Linked DNA regions of Homo sapiens: region 2 is linked to region 1. Evidence: promoter capture Hi-C in human tissues and cell types (Jung and others, 2019). All regions are on one chromosome and are shown on one strand. Each heading gives the region's core, a stretch centred on a gene start or on the middle of the fragment in contact. The rest is flanking DNA. Distances are from core to core; before and after follow the strand shown. Region 1 holds the start of GCGR (glucagon receptor). Region 2 overlaps CCDC57 (coiled-coil domain containing 57).

Evidence for each region. Contacts are between HindIII fragments. The study calls those that stand out against the background at their distance.
Region 2: a contact is called between a fragment that was not itself captured here and the fragment with the promoter of GCGR in region 1, in 3 of the 25 tissues and cell types used here (dorsolateral prefrontal cortex, lymphoblastoid cells and spleen).

Annotation. Positions count from the first base shown.
Region 1 is chr17:81,801,160-81,805,399 of GRCh38, forward strand. GCGR (glucagon receptor) reads left to right here and starts at 2,991. Exons shown (of 14, transcript NM_000160.5): 1 at 2,991-3,090. It overlaps LOC105376789 (a long non-coding RNA gene), which reads right to left and starts at 3,586. Exons shown (of 4, transcript XR_001753046.3): 1 at 3,499-3,586; 2 at 168-1,191. RefSeq lists an enhancer at 2,460-2,959. The HindIII fragment of the contact is 39,466 bases long and covers 1,045-4,240 here.
Region 2 is chr17:82,133,561-82,138,353 of GRCh38, forward strand. CCDC57 (coiled-coil domain containing 57) reads right to left here. Exons shown (of 19, transcript NM_001394669.1): 16 at 513-634. Among named protein-coding and RNA genes, the nearest start is that of FASN, 38 kb to the left of the region's middle. The HindIII fragment of the contact is 3,997 bases long and covers 1-3,945 here.

The DNA.
Region 1 (4,240 bases), core at 1,741-4,240:
TCTGGCTAAACCCAGGAAACAGGAAGCTTGCTGAGGGCAGGCAGGGTTAGCAGACATCGCCTGGGGGTGGCGGAGGCTGAGAACCCTACCCAGGTAAAATGAAGCTTGCTGACGGCAGACAGGGTTAGCAGACACGGCCTGGAGGTGGCAGAGGCTAAGGAACCTACCCAGGTAAAACGAAGCTTGCTGACGGCAGACAGGGTTAGCAGACACGGCCTGGAGGTGGCAGAGGCTAAGGAACCTACCAAGGTAAAATGAAGCTTGCTGAAGGCAGCCAGGGTGAGCAGATATTGCCTGGGGGTGGCGGAAACTGAGGACCCTACCCAGGTAAAAGGAAGCCTGCTGAAGGCAGGCAGGGTGAGCAGACATTGCCTGTGGGTAGCAGAGGCTGAGGACTCTACCCAGGTAACAGGAATCTTGCTTAAGGCAGGCAAGGTGAGCAGACATCGCCTGGGGGTGGCGGAGGCTGAGGACTCTACCCAGATAACAGGAATCTTGCTGCGGGCAGCCAGGGTGAGCAGACGTCGCCTGGGGGTGGTGGAAGCTGAGGACCCTACCCAGGTAAAAGGAAGCTTGCTGAAGGCAGGCAAGGTAAGCAGACATCGCCTGGGGGTGGCGGAGGCTGAGGACCCTGATCAGATATGGGGGGATGGAGGCTTCTTGCCAAACTGACTTAGCAGAGTTCTTGCTGAATCTGGATTTTATAAGGCAGAATGCAGATGAGCCTGTGAGAAGGTTCTGAAGCCGGACTACAGTTTGGTCAAGCAAACAATCTTGTCATGGATTCAGTCATATAAATAAGGGTCACCCAGCCCAGGGGAGGTGCCCCACCCCATCTGTTCCCTCTCCCTCCCCACACTGAGTCCGAACCTTTCAGGCTTTGCCCCCTTCACACACTCCAAATTTATTCTTCTACTTCTCTTCCTGCAGGTACCAGACTCCGGCCACCCAGCGCTTACCTGGGACTGCTGGGCCTCTGCCCCGTGGGGACCTGTCCTCCAGGAAACAAGGCCAGACACAGGAGGGCAGGGAGGACTCTTCTCCAGGGCCGGTGCGCCGTCTCTTCAGCCCCATGGCACTTGACTTAGGCAGAGCCTACAGCACCCTCACCCCAGTCCCTGCAGCCACCAGGAGGTGGTCCCCCTCATCCCATTAGCCATCACCGCCATTCACAGAGGTCTCGGACTGAGGCTGGCAGGGGGAGCACCATGACCCAAGATCAGAACCCTGTTGTCTGTGCCTCTGGAGAGGTGGGGGCAGGAGCTGAGGGAGGGTTTGGGTGGAGAGGGGAGAAGATGCAGTAGCAGGAGCAGATGCTGGCAGGTAGAGACAAACTTTTATGACCTTTGCCTTCTGACCTTTGCCTCTGGCCACTGCTCCAACTAAAACAGAATGGCCCCCTCTGGGAACAGGGCTTCCTATGGGCTGGGAAGCATGGAGCCCCCACAGTGTGGCTATGCAGGGGAGTGAGGACCAGGTGGGGGCAGGCCTGTGGGGGTCACAGAGCTGGGCTAAGCTTCAGAGGGAAGTGGCCCCTGGGAGGGGGAATGGCTGGGGTTAAGACCCTGGGTTCCCACGCCCCCAAAACAGAAGTAGAATTAGGGAGAAAGGACCCCCAAGACCAAGGACGGCACCTATCAGAGGAGCTCTCCACGGGCAGGAGGTGTCCCAGGGTGAGGGTGGCCAGGACAGGTCTAGGGAAATGCAGGTGGAGCAGGACCCAGAGATGGATTGGAGATGCCGGAGGGGAGGCTTCCTAGCGGGAGCGGAGACAGGCACTGCAGACAAGTGTCAGCGGGAGGGGCTCTGGGTGGGGAAGAAGACTGGGACTTGGAGGAAGACCTCTCCAGGGAGAAGGGAGGAGGGGGAAGGAGAAGGGGAGGAAGTGGGAGGAGGAGAGTGCTCATCCTGGAAGCCACAGCCTCGGAGAGAACTTTCTAGAAGGAAGGCATGACCATCAGTGTCCCAGGATGCTGAGAGGCCAGGAAAGGTGAGGCCTCAAGGCGCCATGGGGTTGTGGTGACCCCAAGATCACTGGGCACAGAGCAGGGATGGCTGGGGGTGGAAGGGGAGGGGCGCGGGCTGAGGTTCTAGGGCCCCAAAGCCAGGTGTGATGTGGCTCTAGGGGGAGTGAGGAAGGGGAGAATGTCCCTCTGAGCGTGCCTCTTGGGGAAGGCAGGGGTTCTGGCTGGGGCTTCTCCACTCCCAGGAAAGGAGGTGGTGTGGAAGGAGCGGGTGGGACGGAGGAGAGAGCGCCCCGCGGCCGCAGGACCAGCAGGTGGGGGACCAGGGTCAGCGCTGCTGGAGGGGCCTTAGCGCGACAGGACTGGCCAGAGACCGGGGATGTGGCACAGAAAGAGTTAAAGGGCACCCCAGGGACCGCCCTGCCGGTCCACCCATGTCACCCATGTTGGCCCCTACTCCAGCCCCCGTCTGCTCTGCAGGGGAAGGAACCGGGAGCCGCGGTGGGGGCGACTGGGGGTGTCGGTCTTTCCAGAAAATCAGGCAGGCATCAGGAAAGAAGGGGCGAGAACCCGGGGACGCGAGAGGAAGGGGGCGAGGGGGCGCCCAGGGAGGCGGAGGGAGCGAGAGGAAGGGGGGCTGAGCCACGGCCCCCACGCCCGCGCGCCCCTCCGCGTCCCAGGGCGTCCCCTCCCGGAGCTGGGACCCACCGCGACCACCACCTGCTGGGCCAGGGTCCGCGGGCTCAGGGGTCTGCAGGATTAGGGTCTGCGGAACCAGGACCCGTGGGACAAAGGTCTGTGGGGCGCGGGTCCGCGGGGTGGAATTCAGCGCGCCGAGTCTGCGTATGGCCGGGGTACGAGGCGCTCCCTGCGCAGGGTGGGCAGGACCGAAGCTCGCCGGGAGGCTGCGCGGAGGGCGGGCGGGGACCCTCGGCTGCCGCTCCCACCCCCGCGGGGCCGCCCCCGAGCCCGCCCTCCGCCGCCGCCCTCGCCCTGCGTCGCCGCCGGAAAGTTTGCACCGACCCCGATCTGGCAGCGCCGCGAAGACGAGCGGTCACCGGCGCCCGACCCGAGCGCGCCCAGAGGACGGCGGGGAGCCAAGCCGACCCCCGAGCAGCGCCGCGCGGTGAGCACCTGGGCCGCGGCCCCGAGGGGACGTTGGGGAGTCGACCCGGTGGGGACAGAGACCGCGGGGCGGGCGCGGCGGGGCCGGGGGCGCGGGGAGCGGGGAGCCGGCCGGGCGGTCTCCGGGGTCCGGGCTGGTGCGCTCCTCAGTCCCGTCAGACACCCCCGTTCCCAACCCCGGCTCGGACACCACCCGGTCCTGCACCGTCGGGCAGGTCCAGGGGTCTCAGCCCCTCCCCCGTTCTCTGGTCCTGGGGGGCGCGGCTGGGGGCGGGGGTGTCGCTGGCCGCCTGGCGCCCTGCGGCGGCCACACTGCAGCGGCCACACTCCCCACTCAGGGCCCCGGGCCCCGCCGCCCTGGGGAGCGCACAAAGCGCCGCGGACGCGTCCCCGAGGCGCGGGGTCTCACCAGCGCTGTCTCCCCTCGGTGGGCTCCTGCCCCGAGGACTGCCCGGTGGCACCGGCGCGGCCCAGGATGGGGTGAGGGGTGTCTGCGCCCCGCCTGGCCGCTCCTCTTCCGCGGCCCACACTGGCGACTTTGACCCCGGCAAGCGGGTCACTGCCCTGCCCGGCTCCGGCCCCCCCGGCGCCCCACCACCCGGCCGACTCGGCCACCGGGCTTATGCTCCGACTCTGAACCGACTGACCCCGGCCCCCTCGGCGCCCGCATCCTCCAAGGACCGGCCAGGGCTGCTCTCTGCCCTTGGTATTGGGGACATCAGGGTTGGGGGGTCTGGGTGCACCCACGCCTGCCCCGCCCCCACGGGGTGAGGGCGCAGGGATAGGGCTTTGTCAACAGCCTGTGGCCCCTGATCCCGCCCCGGTGCCCTGACCTTCCACTACCTTCTCTGGTTTCACAAAAACATCCCGGCTCCCATCCCGGAGCTCCTCAAAGCGTCTGAGAGGCCCCTTGCGGACGCCCTGGGAGCCCCGCTGCCTTCCTGGACCAGTGGCCGCTCCACCCATCCTGGGGGCCCAGCTCCAGGTCTGCGGGTCCCTCAGCCGCCCCCAGTGGGAATCGGTGGAGCCTGACGCAGCCAGGAGCGCCCAAGAGTCACGTGTTCTGCCAGGGAGGACATGGGACAGGACACGGGGTGCCAGCCCTGCAAAGCGGCCGGGGCAGTGGAGCTCAGGTGGCCCTAAGCCCTGGT
Region 2 (4,793 bases), core at 697-3,196, 330 kb after region 1:
AAAATAAAAAAAAATGGGGGCTGGGCGCGGTGGTTCATGCCTGTAATCCCAGCACTTTGGGAGGCAGAGGCGGGTGGATCACCTGAGGTCAGGAGTTTGAAACCAGCCTGGCCAATATGGTAAAACCCCATCTCTACTAAAAATACAAAAATTAGTCAGGCGTGTTGGTGCATGCCTGTAATCCCAGCAACTCGGAAGGCTGACTCAGGAGAATTGCTTGAACCGGGAGGGGGAGGTTGTAGTGAGCCGAGATTGCACCACTGCACTCAAGCCTGGGCAACAGAGCAAGACTGTCTCAAAAAACAAACAAACAAATGAGAACCAAAACCAAACCAAAACAAAACAAAAACCCAGCAGAAAACACATTGAAATGTTACTAATAACTATATCTGGATCCTGAAAATTGGAGGCTTTTTATATTGTGTTTATTGTAATCTGAAGTTTCTGTAATGAAAACGACACAATTAGGGAAATATTTTTAAAAATGCATGTCTTAGATGAAGGGGTGTTACCTGAGATGTAAAATGGGGCTGCACCTGTCCCAAAGGTGGGCTGCGATCCAAAGGCCTCCTGGGCTCCTCGCCTGGCTTCCGGGCCTCAGGGGCAGGAGGGAGGGCGTGGTGCAACAGCCACCCTGGGAATGGGATGGGGACAGAGTTTGTTCTCTGTGCATCACTTCTGGATTCCTCTTGTGTTGAATGCAAACACTCAGAAAGAACAGCATGTTCCTTTTCAAAACCAAAGTAACTTCCATTACATCGAGAACTTGGGGAGGGCCGGACAACAGTGAACTGTGACACACAGCATTTCGGTAGAGCTCTTGCACACACAATGCCACGCCCCTGCCACACACAGCCCTTGCTGTCCTCACAGCGGGGGCAGCAAGCACATTCGCTAACAGAAGCACCCAGACGCCCTTTCTGTGGCAGGCACAAAGAAGAAGCAAAAACTTGCCAGGTGCGGAGGCTCACGTCTGTAATCCCAGCACTTTGGGAGGCTGAGGCAGGTTGCTCACTTGAGGCCAGGAGTTCGAGATCAGCCTGGCCAACATGGTGAAACTCCGTCTCTACTAAAAATACAAAAATTAGCTGGGCGTGGTGGTGGGCACCTGTAATCCCAGCTACTCGGGAGGCTGAGGCAGAAGAATTGCTTGAACCCGGGAGGCAGAGGTTGCAGCGAGCCGAGATCATGCCACTGCACTCCATCCTGGGTAACTCCATCTCAAAAAGCAAGCAAACAAACAAACAAAAGAAGCAAAAGCTTAAGTATAACAACTTAAAAATGATGGTTCTACTCAAAGCTTCGGCATGCTAGCTTACTTAGAAATGACCCCACATCAAACGAGATCCTTTCATCAATTCCATTCATGTTATGTTATGTAAAGATCTGCTCCTTCTCTAAGCAGACACATCAGAAGACATAATTACTGAAATAACATTTCCCAGGATTACAAATCAGTTTCGTTAAACTCACTGAGGATTCCAACAAGGTTTTTGGAGGGTGTTTATAACTGTTGACATTTCACATATTGGAAATTGAAACAGACATTTTTTTTTTTGAGATGGAGTTTCGCTCTTGTCCCCCAGGCTGGAGTGCAGTGGCGCGATCTCGACACCCCCAGAACATCCACCTCCTGGGTTCAAGCAATTCTCCTGCCTCAGCCTCCCAAGTAGCTGGGATTACAGGCATGCGCCACCACGCCCGGCTAATTTTGTATTTTTAGTAGAGACGGGGTTTCTCCATGTTGGTCAGGCTGGTCTCGAATTCCCGACCTCAGGTGATCTGCCCGCCTTGGCCTCCCAAAGTGCTGGGAATACAGGTGTGAGCCATGTGCCTGGTCAAAACAGAAAAATTTTAAAGCTTTTTTATCAATTAACTTGAAGTTAGCCATGATGAACATATTGCTTATGATCAACATCTGAGGAGCATCGCAGGATTAGCTCTGCCCTGTGGACATCCCGAGATGGGCCCTCAAGTAAAGCATCAGTTTCTTCTACGCAATAAAAGAACCCAAAGATGACACTTGGAAATGAACGTGTTTCCCTTGGTTTATAAACACCTGAATTTAAAAGCCATGAAGTCAGAAGATGCACGTGTGGGCAAAAACCTCCTGAAGACACTCAACACCATTGGTCACCAGGAGAATGTAAAATCAAGCCCACTATGGGATCCCGCCTCACACCCACTAGGTTGGCTGGGATCAACAGGATAGAAAACAGCTGGGTGCGGTGGCTCACACCTGTAACCCCAGCACACTGGGAGGCCGGGTGGGGGGGATCCTTGATGTCAGGTGTTGGATACTGGCGTGGGCAACACAGTGAGATCCCACCTCTATTTTTAAAAGAAATTTTTTTAAATATAAAAAAAATAAAGTTTTTAAAGATATGCAATAAAAGTATTCTTAATTAAAAAAAACCCCGACAGAAAATAGCAAGTGCTGGTGCAGATGTGGAGAAATCAGAACCTTCGTGCGCAGCTGGTGGGCATGGGAGGCGGTTTGGTGGCTCCTTACCAGGTTAGACACAGAATTCCCACATGACCCAGCAAGGCCACTTCTAGGGAGGCATCCAAGAGAACTGAATGTTCACAGCAATATTATTCACAATAGCCCAAAGGCGGAAACCATCCAAATGTCCATCAAACTGATGGACAAATGCCTACAGTGGCCTGTCCCCCAGCAAAGAGCTCTTCCCATGGAAAGGAATTAAGTGCAGACGCCCCAGCACGAGGGACCCTCAAACAGGACACAGAGGGAAAGAAGCCAGGCACAAAGGGACACATCCTGTGGGATCCTGCTGAAGTGAAACGTCCAGAACAGGCAAAGGCATGGAGGCAGAATGTGGGTGCTGGGCGGGGGACAGGAAGCAACTGCGAATGAGTGTGGGGTTTCCTCTGAAGTGAAAGGAATTCTGGAACAAATGATGATGCTCGCACAACATTCTTGACGTGCTTAATGCACTGAACTGTATACTTTGTATACTTCATGAGCTTTCAACAGTACATTTTATATGTATAGTACCAAAAAAAAAAAAAAAAAAAGAAAACTAGTTTTTTTGAGACAGAGTCTTGCTCTGTCACCCAGGCTGGAGTGCAGTGGTGCAATCGCGGCTCACTGCAGCCTCCACCTCCTGGGCTCAAGCGATCCTCCCACCTCAGCCTCCCAAGTAGCTGGGACCACACCCAGCCAAGTTTTTTGTTTTTTAGTAGAGACAGGGTGTCACTATTCTGCCCAGGTTAGTCTCAAACTCCTAGCCTCAAGTGATCCTCCTCCCTTGGCCTCCCAAAGGGCTGGGATTAGAGGCATGAGCCACTGCACCCAGCTGAAAGCTAGGTCTTGTTTTCTCAATCCTTACTTGGTTGAAAGAAAGCTAGTTTTTTAAAAAGCCATGAAATGTGTTAAAATCTTAGCAAAGTTAGCCCAATTTTGATGGGTTTGTTTCCTTGGTGTACTACTTTTTTTTTTTTTTTTTTGAGACAGAGTCTTGCTCTGTCATCCAGGCTGGATGGAGTGCAGTGGTGTGATGTTGGCTCACTGCAACCTCCACTTCCCAGGTTCAAGCAATTCTCCCGCCTCAGCCTCTTCAGTAGCTTGGATTACAGGCACCTGCCACCATGCCCGGCTAATTTTTGTATTTTTAGTAGACAAGGGGTTTCACCGTGTTGGCCAGGCTGGTCTTGAACTCCTGCAAGCATCCTATGATCCGCCCACCTCGGCCTCCCGAAGTGCTGGGATTACCGGCGTGAGCCACTGCACCCAGCCTTCCTTCGTTTACTATTTATTGACTTCCCCTAAACTATGAAGGGTTATTCTTTACTTTCTATGTAATCTGTTCAGACAGCAAAGGTGCTGTCTTACCAGGGTAATTTTCCGTGCTTTTGTTGACTTATTATGTCTTGATGGTTTCAGAAAACAAAGCTTCCCATGCTTATGAAAGAGCTAAGTTTCTCTATAACTGTTCTCTCCTATGTTTAAGCTTTTTGTCACTTTCACGTGGGTAGCTAAATATTATTTCTCAGGTACCCATGAGTCTTAATGTTCAAATCTCCTGACATTTTTTTTTCCTTCTCAAAATTGAATTCTAAATGTCAAATAAAATAAAGCTTTCAGGAGACTTTTCTTTTTTTTTTTTTTGAGATGGAGTCTCGCTGTGTCGCCAGGCTGGAGTGCAGTGGCGCAATCTCGGCTCACTGCAACCTCTGACTTCTTGGTTCAAGCGGTTCTCCTTCCTCAGCCTCCCGGGTAGCTGGGATTACAGGCACCCGCCACCATGCCTGGCTAATTTTTGTATTTTTAGTAGACGCGGGGTTTCACCTTGTTGGCCAGGATGGTCTTGATCTCTTGACCTCGTGATCCACCTGCCTCGGCCTCCCAAAGTGCTGGGATTACAGGTGTGAGCCACTGTGCCCAGCCCCAGGAGACCTTTTATATTTAAAATGATCTATGAGATGTCCTAGAAGTTCCCTGGAAAATCACAAAATTTTTTTCTTATAAAAAGAGAGGTATTTGAAATAATTAGGTACAAGGTGGGGTGTGGTGGCATGCGCTTGTGGTCCCAGCTACTTGGGAGGCTGAGGCAGGAGGATCTCTTTTTTTTTTTTTTTTTTTGAGACGGAGTCTCGCTCTGTTGCCCAGGCTAGAGTGCAGTGGTACAATCTCGGCTCACTGCAAGCTCCGCCTCCCGGGTTCACGCCACTCTCCTGCCTCAGCCTCCCGAGTAGCTGGGACTACAGGTGCCCACCACCACGCCTGGCTAATTTTTTGTATTTTTAGTAGAGACAGGGTTTCACCCTGT